Regions from separate parts of the Homo sapiens genome. Here regions 1 and 3 are each linked to region 2. The links are contacts of gene promoters, found by promoter capture Hi-C in human tissues and cell types (Jung and others, 2019). All regions are on one chromosome and are shown on one strand. The core of a region is centred on a gene start or on the middle of the fragment in contact, and the rest is flanking DNA. Distances in the headings are between cores, read along the strand shown. Region 1 overlaps CYP4F22 (cytochrome P450 family 4 subfamily F member 22). Region 2 holds the start of BRD4 (bromodomain containing 4). Region 3 holds the start of OR1I1 (olfactory receptor family 1 subfamily I member 1).

Region 1 (4,483 bases), core at 1,010-3,509, 220 kb after region 2:
ATTTTGGGTATTGATACATGCACAAAAGAAAGAAAAACTGGGCCAGTTCCGGTTTACAGGTGCAGTGGCTCACACTTGTAATCCCAGCACTTTGAGAGGCTAAGGTGGGAGAATCGCTTGGGCCCAGGAGTTTGAGACCAGCCTGGGCAACACAGCGAGACCCCCCATCTCTACCAAAAAGGAAAAAGTTGGCCCAATGTGGTGGCTTGTGTCTGTAATCCCAGTGCTTTGGGAGACCAAGATGGGAAGATTGTTTGAGGCCAGAAGTTCCAGCTCAGCCCAGCCTGGGCAACACAGTGAGACCCCATTTCTAAAAAAAAAAAAAGTTAGCCAGCCATGGTGATGCACATCTGCAGTGCCAGCCACTCGGGAGGCTGAGGCAGGAGGATCGCTTGGGCCCAGCAGTTTGAGGCTGCAATGAGCTATGGTTATTTATTTATTTATTTATTTGAGACTGGGTCTTGCTCTGTTGCCCAAGCTGGAGCGTGTGCAGTGGTGCGATCTTGGCTCACTGCAACTTCTACCTCCTGGGTTCAAGAGATTCTCCTGCCTCAGCTTTCTGAGTAGTTGGGATTACAGGTGTGTGCCACCATGCCTGGCTAATTTTTTTGTATTTTTAGTAGAGATGGGGTTTCACCATGTTGGCCAGGCTGGTCTTGAACTCCTGAGCTCAGATGATCCATCTGCCTTGGCCTCCCAAAGTGCTGGGATTACAAGCGTGAGCCACCGCGCCCAGCCTGCAATGAGCTATGATCGCGCTTCTGCACTCCAGCCTGAGTGAGACTCTGACTCTAACAAACAAACAAACAAACAAAGACAGACAAACAAACAAAAAAAAAGAAAAACAGGTGGAGGGGGCACTTTAGCTCGAGTGGTTATGAAAGGCCTTGCCGAGGAGATGTTTGAGCTGAGAACTTAGGGGATGAAGGATCAGGGAGAAGCCTGTTCTAGGCAGAGGAAACAGCAAGTGCAAAGGCCCTGAGGTGGAATCTCACTGGTGCGTGTGAACAACAGAAGGAGGCAGGTGTGGCTGCATTGCAGGAAGTGCAAGGTGGAATGGAAGAGGTGGCCCTGGGGTGCTCCCCATCCATCTTTACTGACCCCCAGAGGCTCAGGGAAGGGGGCCAGGCTGGGATGTCTGGGGCAGCCCCCAGACTCATCTCCAGGCTGTTCCTCCCTAGGTGTACAACCCCTACCGCTTTGACCCGGACAACCCACAGCAGCGCTCTCCACTGGCCTATGTGCCCTTCTCTGCAGGACCCAGGTAACCCCTCTATTTCCCCTAGTCCAAGCCAGCTGTGTAGGAACAGAGGCAGGGAAAGATCAGGAATGTGCCTCTCAGGAGCAGAGATCAGATGGCACCCAGGCGTCCTTTCTGAAGACCCAGCACCCTCTCCCCAATGCGCCAGGAGGCCCCCAAATCAGACTCTGCAATAGCATCCTGGGTATTGAGCACCAACGGTGTGTCAGGCCCTGAGTTCTGGGCTCCCACGCTCCCATTGGCTCTATGATGCCTTTGTCCCCGTTTTTACAGATGAAGGAACTGAGACTCAGAGGGGGCGCTGTGTATCCAGGACACACAGCTAGTAAGAGGCTGTACTGGGATTCAGACACTCAACCCCAAGGTCACATTAATTGAGCGATCCGTGGGGTCTCACTTTAACCCTCACCCAGCGTGGGGTTTCACTTTAACCCTCAGCCAGCCCAGGATGCTTGCTTCATTTTCAAAGGAGGCATGTGACCCCCGGGGACCAGTGCTCACACAGAAGCTGGGCCTGAGCCCTGTCCCCTCTTCCTCCAGGAATTGCATCGGACAGAGCTTCGCCATGGCCGAGTTGCGCGTGGTTGTGGCACTAACACTGCTACGTTTCCGCCTGAGCGTGGACCGAACGCGCAAGGTGCGGCGGAAGCCGGAGCTCATACTGCGCACGGAGAACGGGCTCTGGCTCAAGGTGGAGCCGCTGCCTCCGCGGGCCTGAGCGTGGGCGCGCCCCTGCGGCTCCCGAGGGTCCAGGCCCCGCCCCCAAAGGACCAGGACTCGCCCCAAAGATCCCGAGGGCATAGGCCACCCCCCTCGAAGTTCAGGTTCAGCTCCTGGATGACCAGGCACCGCTGTTGAGCAGCCTGGTGGTACTGGCCACGCCCCTCAAGGCAAGGCTCCTCCCCTTAGGGGGCCTGATCCCGCCCCTTGAGGCTTAGGTCCCGCCCCCTGACTTCTCGCACCTGTCCTGTTTGAGGGACCAGGGTCGACCCTGCCCCCTTGGGCTCAGGCCCCGCCCCCAGGATCCTACGGATTGAGGTCCTCAGGCCACGCCCCTGCAGATCCAGGTCTCCAGGCCTTGCCCACTGAGCCTTCAGAGGACCTAAGACCCACCTATGACTCAGGGCCCACCACACCCCACCCCCCCCCAACTGGCTGAACCCCTGGCAGGCTTCCAAACTGAGGAAAGCTGGAGCCTGACGTCAGAGCTTTTAACTCGGACATCACCCTCCTGAGGCCCTCAGCTCATACGGGCAGACTGCTCAGGCGTGAGGCTGGATCGTAGGGTTCGAGGCTGCTTGCTTTTGTTGTTGTTTTGTAAACTCAGACCCTTGTAAGCCCCTTCCTTCCTCCCTTGCCCAAAGATCCTTTGCTGAGTGTTCTGTTTTTGCAGAATAAAAGCAAAGGATGCAGACTTACCCCACCCTCCACCCCTAGCTCAGCCAGATCCTTACACGTGGAGCCCCCAGCATGGGAATGAGGGGCTCTGCAACTGAGCGAAGCTGCGGGCTAGGAGGCTGGAAAGCCATTTATCCTAGGACATAAACTCAGATTTTGGGGGTCAGTTTGTGTGTTCATTTATTTCATCAACAGATCACATATTGTTTGCTGGCACTGCTTCAGAACCACAGGCAGGCCCTGTTTTCTGCCTTCTTAGGGGGTGGGGGACAGATGTTGAACAAATAATTCCACGTGTAAAGGTTTATTTACAACCCAGGACAGGTGCTCCAAAGGAGAGGCCCCGGGTGCTGGATGAATATAGCAGAGGGATGGGGATGGGTCAGGGAGAGCTTCTCCGATGCTGGAATGGAAGTTGAGTGGGTGACAAGGGGAGGGAAGAGTATTCCAGGCAGAAGGAACAACATCTGAGAATACCCTGAGCTGAGGGAGAACAGAGTGTGTTTGAGGAACTCACCAGGGGCCAGGTGGTTGGATCTGGGAAGTGGGGGCAGAATGAAGGAAGGGGCCAAATGCACAGGCTTTATGCTGAGGGCAATAGGGAGCCATGGAGAGTGTGTGAGCGGGATCAGGACAGGACATGGCCAGATCTAGGGCTGGCAGGGAGGTGACTTGCGGGGTTGGGACCCTGGGAAAGAGGGAAGCTGAGGTCCAGACAACAGGAAGGGCCAGGATTGGGGTGACTATCTAGCAGTGGGGGCTGAGGGGAGGGAGGTGGTAAGGGTGATGCTCAGGTATTTGGCTGAGGGAACTTGATGGTAGAGTAGTCCCTGATATGGGAATATAAAAGATGGGGGCCAGGCGTGATGGCTTACACCTGTAATCCCAGCACTTTGGGAGGCTGAGGCTGGAGGATTGCTTGAGACCAGGAGTTAGAGACCAGCCAGGGCAACACAGTGAGACTCCATTTCTACAAAAAATAAAAAATTAGCCAGGTGTGATGGTGCACATCTGTAGTCCCAGCTACTTGGGAGGCTGAGGCAGGAGGATCACTTGAGCTGAGGAGTTTGAGGCTGCAGTGAGCTATGATCACACCACTGCACTCCAGCTGGGGCAACAGAGCAAGACCCTGTTCCAAAAACAAACAAACAAAAAAAGGTGGGCAATGACAATGTCAGCAATTTTATACATATAAAATGCTACACTAAAGGAAAATGATACTGCTATTATACCACATATATAATATATATATATGCACTATATATGCCATCATTATATATATAGTGGTGGTATAATAGTGGTATCATCTTCCTTTTAGGTAGCATTTGCCTGTAGACTATTTCCATCTAGGTCACTAGAGACAATAATATTAATTCAACAGGCCGGGTGCGGTGGCTCATGCCTGTAATCCCAGCACTTTGGGAGGCTGAGACAGGTGGATCACCTGAGGTTAGGAGTTTGAGACCAGCCTGGCCAACATGGTGAAACCCTGTCTCTACTAAAAAATACAAAAATTAGCCACGTTTGATGGCGGGTGCCTGTAATCCCAGCTACTCAGTAGGCTGAGGCAGGAGAATCGCTTGAACCTGGGAGGTGGAGGTTGCAGTGAGCCGAGATTGTGCCACTGCACTCCAGCCTGGGCGACAGAGTGAGATTCTGTCTAAAAAAAAAATTAATTTACCAAATATTTCTTGGGCAATCTGCCGTGAGACAGGCACTGTTTGAGCCCTAGGTTCCCAGAGTTTACCTCTAGGGAGGAGATATGATAAATGATAAATAAGTAAAGAAAGAAGTAAATTCACACAGGGCCTTTTCTGTGACTTT
Region 2 (4,396 bases), core at 1,171-3,670:
CTTCAGCAATTCCACTGGGCTGACTGCTAGCAAGATACTCGGAGGTGGACTCGACTCCTTCCAATTAAGACCAACTAAAGCCATTCTGAGACCGGCTAACTCCAGTTTGAGCCTTTAAGATACTATGTTTCCTACCAAAGAAAGAGGTATGGTGGATAACAGAGCAGCAATACATTTTGTTTCAGATTAGGCTTTGCCTTCTCCATTTGATCAATGGAAACCCTGAGTGGTTTATCTTTCCCTGGCTGAAGTTTTTGGGGGGAAGCGCTTGGTTATCTACAACGCATCAGTGATAAGATAAAAAGATAAAAAACATAATCCCCACCCAAATTAAACCGAAATAAATGCTTTATGAAATTATTGGCGGCCGGGAACGGTGGCTCATGCCTGTAATCCCAACACTTTGGGAAGCCGAGGAGGATGGAACACCTGAGGTCAGGAGTTCGAGACCAGCCTGGCCAACATGGTGAAACCCGCGTCTCTCCTAAAAATGCAAAAATTAGCTAGATGTGGTGGCGGGCGCCTGTAGTCCCAGCTACTCGAGAGGCTGAGACAGGAGAATCGCTTGAACCCAGGAGGCAGAGGTTGCAGTGAGCCGAGATCGCGCCACTGCACTACAGCCTGGGCGACAGAGCGAGACTCCATCTAAAAGTATATGTATATATTGGCAAGATCATAAAACAGATTGTGCCATCAAAAACTTTCTTGAAATTAAAAACACATTCATAAATCCTTTTGAGTATCGCTTTCTTTACAACTTCCAAAGACGGTAGGGAACTTGACAGCTCCATTCACAAAAAACTCCCGACCATTGTTACAGCCCCAAAGAGCCACTGGCTTACGAGGTAAACTGCGACTTGGTTTTTGGAACCACGGACTGGTAGAGCCCTGTCGAAGGTAAGCAAAGACATTCCAATTCTCGTGAGGCATACATTCCAAGGGGTCACTAGCATCCAACACACACGCAGAGAAATGAACCCAAGACCAGACACCCCACCAGGCTGCACGAAACGTAAACAAGTAAACAAGCAAATAAAAATCTTAAAAAAACAAAGCGTAGTCTTGAGTAAAAGGGAGGTCAGCCACCCAGGAGAAGCACATGACTCATGCACCGGCCTGAACTAAAGTATTTACACCGTCCACTACAACAGAGTGGGGTTTCCCATCTTCAAGCAAACCCAAGCCTTGGGGGCATCTCAGCCGAGTGAAGCCATGCTATTTCCGTTTGGGAGGAGGGGGATCATTTTATTTCGCTGAATCACAACTCCCCCACATCCCCACCCCAAATCACCACAATCACCACCACCACACAACACTGCAAATAAAATAGGCCGTTGCAAGGACGCCGGCGAGCACGGACCGAGCAAAACAAAGCGCCCAGCAAGGGGCTGCCAGGCTGAGAGTGGGTGCGTCAAGCGGGCCAAGCTCGCCTCCAGGGCACCGCTCCCGCCCTGAGGCCTGGCCTCAGACCGGCGTGCAGCCGCAGCCACCTCCCTCCGCAGGGGACCTGCCCCTTTCTCCGCAGCACTCCGGGGACCGCCGGGAAGGTGAAGAGATGGGGGTGGGGGCGCGCTGCCCCGGCCCAGGCAAAACGACCTGGGTGCCAGAAGGAGAGCGCGCCGGCCCCGGCCCACGTGAGCGCCGCGGCCGAGCCCGCCTAGAGGACCGCGGACCGGGACAGCTGCGCTCGCGGCCCCCGCGCCAGGCCGGGACTTACCCGGGCCGGGCGCGCCGCGGACCCCGCGGCGGCCGCTTCCTCCTCCTCCTCCTCCTCCTCACTTAACAAAATGGCGGCGGCAGGAAGTGCCGGGCGCCTCGGCCCGCCCCCCGCCCGCCCCCGACCGCCGGCCCCGCCGCGGCGCCCGCGCCCCCCACCCGCGCCCCGCCGGCCAGCCCAAGCCCGGGTCCGACGGCACCAAAGGCAGGACAGCCGCGAGCGACCCCGCCGCCCCGACACCAACGGCGCAGGCCGCCCCGGCCCGGAACGAACGGCGCGGGAGGCCCGCAGGCCCGAGCCCGCGTAGCCCCGGCCTCCCCGCCCCCGCGCCGCGCGGATGGCGTAGGTGGCGGCGCCCCGGCCCCATTACGCAATGCAGGTTACGCGGACCGCGCCGCGAGCCTCCGCCAGCCGCCCAGTGTCGTCCGCCGCCCCAAAGGGCACCAGTCCTCACCTGAGACGCTAGGCCGCACGCCGCCCCCGCCGGCCGTCCGCCCGCTGCCGCCGCCCCCTCCCCGAGCTGCCTGCGCGGCGCCGGGGCCCGCCCGCCGCTCTGCCGAGCTCACAGGCCGCGCTCGCCCGCGGGCACCGCCGGCAGCCGCCGCAGCCGCTGCCGCCGCCACTGCTTCGGCTCCTCGGCTGCGGGAGACCAGAACAAACAGCCCAGCCGCCGCCGCCGCCGCCGCCGCCGCCGCCAGCGCACTGACGTCACCGCGCACGCTGCGCGCGCGGCCCCGCGCCGCCGCCGCCCGGTGTGCGCGCCCCGCCCCCGCGCCCAGCGCGAACGAGCTCTGGAGAGACAGTGGCTGCGAGGTGAGTGGGGGATACCGCGGACTGAGGGAGGAGACCCCGCAGAGCGAAGGAGCGGGCTGGGGGAAACGGGCGGACTGCAGGCTGGGCCTGCGGGAAAAGATCTGAAGGCTGAGAGAGACATCCAAAATACTAAGAAAGGTCTGAAGACAGACCCTCACAGGGAGGGAGGATGGTGAGGAGGGACCCCACAGACTGATGGAGGAGGCGGAGGAGAGAGCCCTAAGGGGGGACCCCAGGTAGGGAGGCTGAGGCGAGAGAGCTGCGATGGGGGCGCCGGGGCTGGGGTGAAGTGGAGGAAAGGAGGTGAGAGGAGGCTGCGAGCAAGGCCGAGGCGGATCCTCCTTGGCTGCCCCTGGGCAGGGAGGTAGCACCTTTCTCCTCTTATGCCCCCCTGTTGATCTTCTTCCAACCCACCTTTTTAAAAAAAGGGACATGGTCTTGCTCTGTCCCCCAGGCTGGAGTGCAGTAGTGCAGTCATAGCTCACTGCAGCCTCAACCTGCTGGCCTCAAGCGATCCTCCTGCTTCAGCCTCCCAAGTAGCTGGGACTACAGGTGTGCACCACCACACCCAGCTAACTATTTTTTGTAGAGATGGGATCTCACGATGTTGGCCAGGCTGGTCTCTGTCTCCTGGACTCAAGCGATCCTCCTGCCTCGACCTCCCAAAGTGCTAGTATTACAGGCGTGAGCCACCGCGCCCAGCTCCTTCCCATCCTTAAGACTCAACCCCAAGTCAGACCAGGCTCGGTGGCTCACACCTGTAATCTCAGCACTTTGGGAGGCAGAGGCAGGAGGTTGGCTTGAGGCCAGGGGTTGGAGACCATCCTAGCCAACAGAGTGAAACCTCGCCTCTACTAAAAATACAAAAATTAGCCCCGTGTGGGCCGGGCGCAGTGGCTCACGCCTGTAATCCCAGCACTTTGGGAGGCGGGCAGATCACGAGGTAAGGAGATCGAGACCATCCTGGCTAAGACGGTGAAACCCCGTCTCTACTAAAAATACAAAAAATTAGCCGGGTGTGGTGGTGGGCGCCTGTAGTCCCAGCTACTCGAGAGACTGAGGCAGGAGAATGGCGTGAACCCGGGAGGCGGAGCTTGCTGTGAGCGGAGATCGCGCCCCTGCACTCCAGCCTGTGCGACAGAGCGAGACTCCGTCTCAAAAAAAAAAAAAAAAAATTAGCCGGGTGTGGTGGCGCATGCCTGTAATCCCATGCCTGTAATGCCAGCTACTCAGGAGGCTAAGGCAGAAGAATCACTTGAACCCGGGAGGCGTAGGTTGCAGTGAGCCGAGATTGTGCCACTGCACTCTAGCCTGGGCGACAGAGCAAGGCTCTGTCTCCAAAAAAGAAAAAGACTCAACCCTAAGTCAGCTCCAGGACGTATGTGCCTACTCTACATGTGTGAGTCCGAGGGGAAAAAACATCATATGACCTCTTCTAGGGCTTCCAAAGCACCCCACCTGGCCACGGAAGAGCTTAGTAAACATGGGGTAGTTTTGAGATTGCTAAAAGGAGGAAGTTAGGCATATGTCTCTTGTAGCTTAAAATAATACTGTGAAATTTTTCAAACCTGGAAACAACCACTTCTCTTTCCTTTTATATATATATATATTTTTTTTTTTAAGACAAGATCTTGCTCTGTCACCCAGGCTGGAGTGCAGTGGCTGGATCATAGCTCACTGTAACCTCAAACTCTCAGTCTCAAGTGATCCTCCCACGTCAGCCTCTTTAGTAGCTGGGACCACAGGTGTGCGCCACCGTGCCCAGCTAATTTTTGTATTTTTGTGGAGAGGAGGTCTCACCATGTTGCCCAGACTGGTCTTGAATTCCTGGGCTCAAGCGATCCACCTCCCTCAGCCTCCCAAAGT
Region 3 (5,080 bases), core at 511-3,010, 250 kb before region 2:
AGACTGGGTTTCACCATTTTTCCCAGGCTGGTCTCGAACTCCCGACCTCAAGTGATCCACCCGCCTCAGCCTCCCAAAGTGCTGGGATTACAGGTGTGAGCCACCATGTCTGGCCACCTTATGGACTTTTTAGGTGGGTTTTTCCCCAACCTTTGGGCTCAAATTGATTTTTTTTTTTTTTTTGAGACAAGGTCTCACTCTGTCACCCAGGCTGGAGTGCAGTGGCATGATCTCAACTTGCTGCAAACTTCACCTCCCGGGCTCAAGGGATCCTCCCACCTCAGCCTCCTGAGTAGTTGGGACTATAGGCACGTCCAGCTAATTTTGTATTTTTAGTAGAGACAGGGTTTCACCATGTTGGCCGGGCTGGTCTCAAACTCCTGAGCTAAATTGATCCACCTGCCTCGGCCTCCCAAAGTGCTAGGATTACAGGTGTGAACCACCATGCCCAGCCTCTGAAAATAATTTTAATTTTAAAAAAATAATGACAGTGGGATTGGCACCTACTCATATCCCCATATGTCCAACGCGAAGTTGGTCTACCTTGTTCTTGCTTTGAAGCTGACCTCCCCACAGAGTTACGATCCAAGAGCCAACAGTCCAACAGCCAATATTATTAGGGAAAGTAATTCTAATATTTACTAAAGCCCCTAGGAGAATTTCAACAAGTATCCTACACACGTTCTGTGTGGCTGATAGGAAGGATTTTTTTTTTAAGAGACAGGGTCTCACTCCGTTGTCCAGGTTGGAATGCAGTGGTGCGATCACAGCTCACTGCAGCCTCAACCTCCAGGGCTCAAGTGATCCTCCCACCTCAGCCTCCTGGGTAACTGAGACCACGGGCATGTGCCACCAATCCTGGCTAATTTTTTTAAATTTTTTGTAGATATAAGGTCTTGCTGTTTTGCCCAAGCTGGTCTCAAACTTCTAGGCTCAAGGGATTCTCCAACCTTGGCCTCCCAAGTAGCTAGGATTATAGGCATGAGCCACCGTGTCCAACTCCAGTGCCAAGCAGGTGATCAAGAAGTGTTTGATAGGCCGGGTACAGTGGCTCAGGCCTGTAATCCCAGCACTTTGGGAGACCGAGGAGAGCAGATCACTTGAGGTTTGAGATCAGTCTTTCCAACATGGTGAAACCCTGTCTCTACTAAAAATACAAAGACTAGCTGGGCATGGTGGTGGGCACCAGTAATTCCAGCTACTCAAGAGGCTGAGGAGGGAGAATTGCTAGAACCCAGGAGGTGGAGGTTGCAGTGAGCCGAGATTGCTCCACTGTGCTCCAGGCTGGGTGAAAGAGTGACACTCCATCTCAAAAAAAAGTGTTTGATAAATTTATTTATTTAATACCGATTTATTGATTGATTGATACTCTTCGGAGCTTTCCTTAATGAGCCAGTTTCTTCCATAATGCAATGAATGAAAGGACCTCTCAGATTCAGGCATCTGAGTGCCCGACTGGAGTCTGGGACCCCCCAGACCTCTCTGCCTGGGAGCTTCCATGAAGCTCAGCCTGAGCTGGAAGGAGACCGTAGGGAGATGTCCTAGTGAGAGTGAATCCCTAGTCACTGTTTCCTCTTCTTACCCACTCGATGATCCCAAAGCACACCCATCTCCAAAAGAACAGGTCACATGTGGCAGAGGAGAAACAAAATAATTAGCATCCGCTTCCTTAACAAGGAGCTATGGGGACGAAGTCTCCTAGAGTCCCCAGACTATAAATACCCTGATGTTCCCCTGGCTCCCCCACTCACCTGCAGAGTCTGGGGGCGGGGGGGTACACATATGAATCCTTCCCATAGACATCAGGCTAACCCCAGCGATCACAGGTGAGTAGCCCCCATGCCCTTCCTAGGGGTTTAGTGCTGACCTCGGGATCCTCTAGCAGTTGGTGGAGAAGGAGGCTTCCCGGGACCCTCCCCTTGGTGATGCCATCCTGGTGAGCAGGTGAGGGATGGGGAAAGGATTGAGCTGAGGGTGGGGGTGGAGGGTTGTGGGAGAGGAATCTGTCTCCTTCCTAGAGGCCGAGAGAGAGAGAAGAGACTGAGACCAAGTCTAGACTCTCTGAGTGGACAAAGCACGCAGACGGCAGACCCTCTGTGGCAGGATATGTGGAGGAAAAGCACTGAGGGTCTGCAGCTGCAGGACACCTGCACAGATAGGAGAGGTCTTGAGAAACAAGTTTCTCCAATGCAGCAGCTCCCCAAGTGTGGTCCCTGGGCTAGAAGCACCAGCATCCTCTGGAAACTATCTAGAAGTGCTGGTTCTTACACCAGACATTTCAGGGAAAGGGCTTAGCTTTTTGTGTATGATGAGTTTGGGAGCGGGGGGGAGGGGGCGGGGGGATTGTTTTGTTTGTTTGTTTGTTCTTTCTGTTTTTGAGACAGGGTCTCGCTCTGTTGCCCAGTCTGGAGTGCAGTGGCATTATCATAGCTCATCGCAGCCTCGACCTCCCAAGCTCAAGTGATCCTCCCTCCTCAGCCTCCCGGGTACCTGGGATAACAGACATATACCACCATGCCTGGCTAATTTTATTTTCGTAGAGGCAGGGATCTTCCTATGTTGCCCAGGATGGTCTCACACTCCCGGGCTCAAGAGATCCTCCTACCTTGGCCCCCCAAGCAGCTGGGACTAACAGGTGTGTGCCACCATGTCCAGCTAATTTTTTATTTTGTAGAGATGGGGGTCTCACTGTGTTGCCCAGGTTGGTCTCTAACTCCTGGACTCAAGGGATTCTCCCACCTCAGCCTTCTGAGTAGCTGGGACTATGGAAGCATGCCACCATGCCCAGCAGATTGTTTTATTTTTTGTAGATCCAGGGCGGGATTGGGGGTGGGGTGGCCTCACTTTGTCTGCCAGGCTGGTCTTGAACTCCTGGCCTCAAGCAATTCTCCCACTTCAGCCTCCCAAAGTGCTGGGATTACAGGTGTGAGCCACCATGCCTGGCCCGCTTTTTGTGTTTTAACAAGCCTTCCAGGTGACCCTGAAGCGTGCTCAAGGTTGAGAACCGCTGCTCTATGCAACCCAAGTCAACAACTGAGGACTGTTACAAATATGTTGCCAGGAAGGGAATCGCAGTATTCTATCCAGCCTAGAGAAAACCAAGCATTGCATTGCAAAAACCTCAAGTCCAACACTAAAAAGCCTCAAAAAGTTAACATAGGGCTTTGCTGAAGGCCTCTTGGGGTTACCAAGGAGATTATGCTGCTAACCTTCCTAAAAACCCCTTTCATCGGCTGGGCGCTGAAATGATGAGATTACTGGGCTCACGCCTGTAATCTCAGTACTTTGGGAGGCCAAGGTGGGCGGATCACCGGGTCAGGAGTTCAAGACCAGCCTGGCCAACAGGCTTAGTAGAGGCGAAACCCCGTCTCTACTAAAAATACAAAAATTAATCGGGCGTGGTGATGCACACCTGTAATCCCAGCTATTCGGGTGGCTGAGGCACAAGAATCACTTGAACCCAGGAGACGGATGTTGCAGTGAGCCGAGATCGTGCCACTGTACTCTAGCCTAGGTGACAGAGTGAGACTCTGTCTCGAAAAGAAACACGTGTAAATGCTTGTAATTGAATATTTTTCCCTTGCACGTGTTGACAGCACAGAATTTAGCTTCGAAATGCCTCATAAAGAGGTGAGAGTGGCCATTCTTAGGGAGGCAGTGGAGTATGAGAGTGAAAATAAGTCTAAATTCAAAGGCGAGATCAGGCACTTGCAAGCTGAGTGCCCCTGGCAGCTCGCTCAGCCCCAGTCTGCTCACTGTAAATTGTAGCTAACACAATCTCCCTGTGGGAGTTATTGTAAGACCTATGCATTAAGAAACTGGCTCCTGGCTGGCTGCAGTGGCTCACGCCTGTAATCCCAGCACTTTGAGAGATCAAGCCGGGCAGATGATGAGGTCAGGAGTTCAAGACCAGTCTGACAAACATGGTGAAACCCCATCTCTACTAAAAATACAAAAATTAGCCATGCGTGGTGGTGCTCGCCTGTCATCCCAGCTACTCAGGAGGCTGAGGCAGGAGAATCTTTTGAACCCAGGAGGCGGGGGTTGCAGTGAGCCAAGATCGCGCCACTGCACTCCAGCTTGGGTGACAGAGTAAGACTCCATCTCAAAAAAGAAAAGAAAGAAAGAAACCGGCTCCTCATCAGGATAAATAGCTAATGCATGCTGGGCTTAATACCGAGGTGATGGCTTGATAGGTGCAGCAAACCACTATGGCACACGTTTACCTATGTAACAAACCTGCACGTCCTGCACGTGTATCCTGGAACTTAAAATAAAATGATAAAATTAAATAAAATAAAAATCATGCTGAGCAGCCAATAGCTGGGGGAAAAAAAAAGAAAGAAACTGGCTCCTAAGAAGGTTTAACCCATTACAGATATCATTATTGCTGAGGGCAAAATAAAAACACCTGTCCCAGCTACTAGGAAGGCTGAGGTGGGAGGAACACCTGAGCTCAGGAGGTACAGGCTGCAGTGAGCTGTGATTGTGCCACCGCACTGCAGCCTGGGTGACAGAGTGAGACCCTGTCTCAAAATAAATTAAATTAAATTAAATAGATCTTGTATTAGATAATTTTGCCTAACTGTAGGCTAACGTAAGTGTTCTGAGCACATTGAAGGTGGGCTAGGCTAAGCTGTGATGTTTGGTAGGTTAGGTATGTTCAATGCATTTTTGACTTATATATATATATATATATATATATATATATATATATATATATATATTTTTTTTTTTGAGACAGAGTTTCGCTCTTGTTGCCAAGGCTGGAGTACAGTGGCTCAATCTCAGCCCACTGCAACTTCTGCCTCCCAGGTTCAAGCGATTCTCCTGCCTCAGCCTCCCAAGTAGCTGGGATTACAGGCATGCACCACAACGCCTAGCTAATTTTGTATTTTCAGTAGAGACGGGGCTTCACCTTGTTGGCCAGGCTGACCTCTCAAACTCCTGACCTCAGGTGATCCCCCTGCCTCGGCCTCCCAAAGTGCTGGGATTATAAGAATGAGCCACCACGCCAGGTCTGACTTATGACATTTTCAATGTATGACCCCATTATCAGCCTCAGAACATCTGTACCTAT

The links. Contacts are between HindIII fragments. The study calls those that stand out against the background at their distance.
Region 1: a contact is called between a fragment that was not itself captured here and the fragment with the promoter of BRD4 in region 2, in 1 of the 25 tissues and cell types used here (spleen).
Region 3: the fragment with the promoter of OR1I1 here is called in contact with the fragment with the promoter of BRD4 in region 2 in 1 of the 25 tissues and cell types used here (pancreas).

Annotation. Positions count from the first base shown.
Region 1 is chr19:15,549,493-15,553,975 of GRCh38, forward strand. It overlaps CYP4F22 (cytochrome P450 family 4 subfamily F member 22), which reads left to right. Exons shown (of 14, transcript NM_173483.4): 13 at 1,182-1,264; 14 at 1,802-2,825. The coding sequence ends at 1,979. Among named protein-coding and RNA genes, the nearest start is that of CYP4F22, 43 kb to the left of the region's middle. RefSeq lists a silencer at 2,074-2,123. The HindIII fragment of the contact is 4,717 bases long and covers 1-4,483 here.
Region 2 is chr19:15,330,119-15,334,514 of GRCh38, forward strand. It overlaps BRD4 (bromodomain containing 4), which reads right to left and starts at 2,421. Exons shown (of 20, transcript NM_001379291.1): 1 at 2,172-2,421. It overlaps LOC124904643 (a long non-coding RNA gene), which reads left to right and starts at 2,495. Exons shown (of 4, transcript XR_007067146.1): 1 at 2,495-2,530. RefSeq lists silencers at 1,421-1,470, 1,481-1,630, 1,661-1,760, 1,961-2,190, 2,421-2,520 and 2 more and an enhancer at 2,687-3,303. The HindIII fragment of the contact is 25,776 bases long and covers 1-4,396 here.
Region 3 is chr19:15,080,451-15,085,530 of GRCh38, forward strand. OR1I1 (olfactory receptor family 1 subfamily I member 1) reads left to right here and starts at 1,761. Exons shown (of 2, transcript NM_001004713.2): 1 at 1,761-1,826. The HindIII fragment of the contact is 16,029 bases long and covers 1-5,080 here.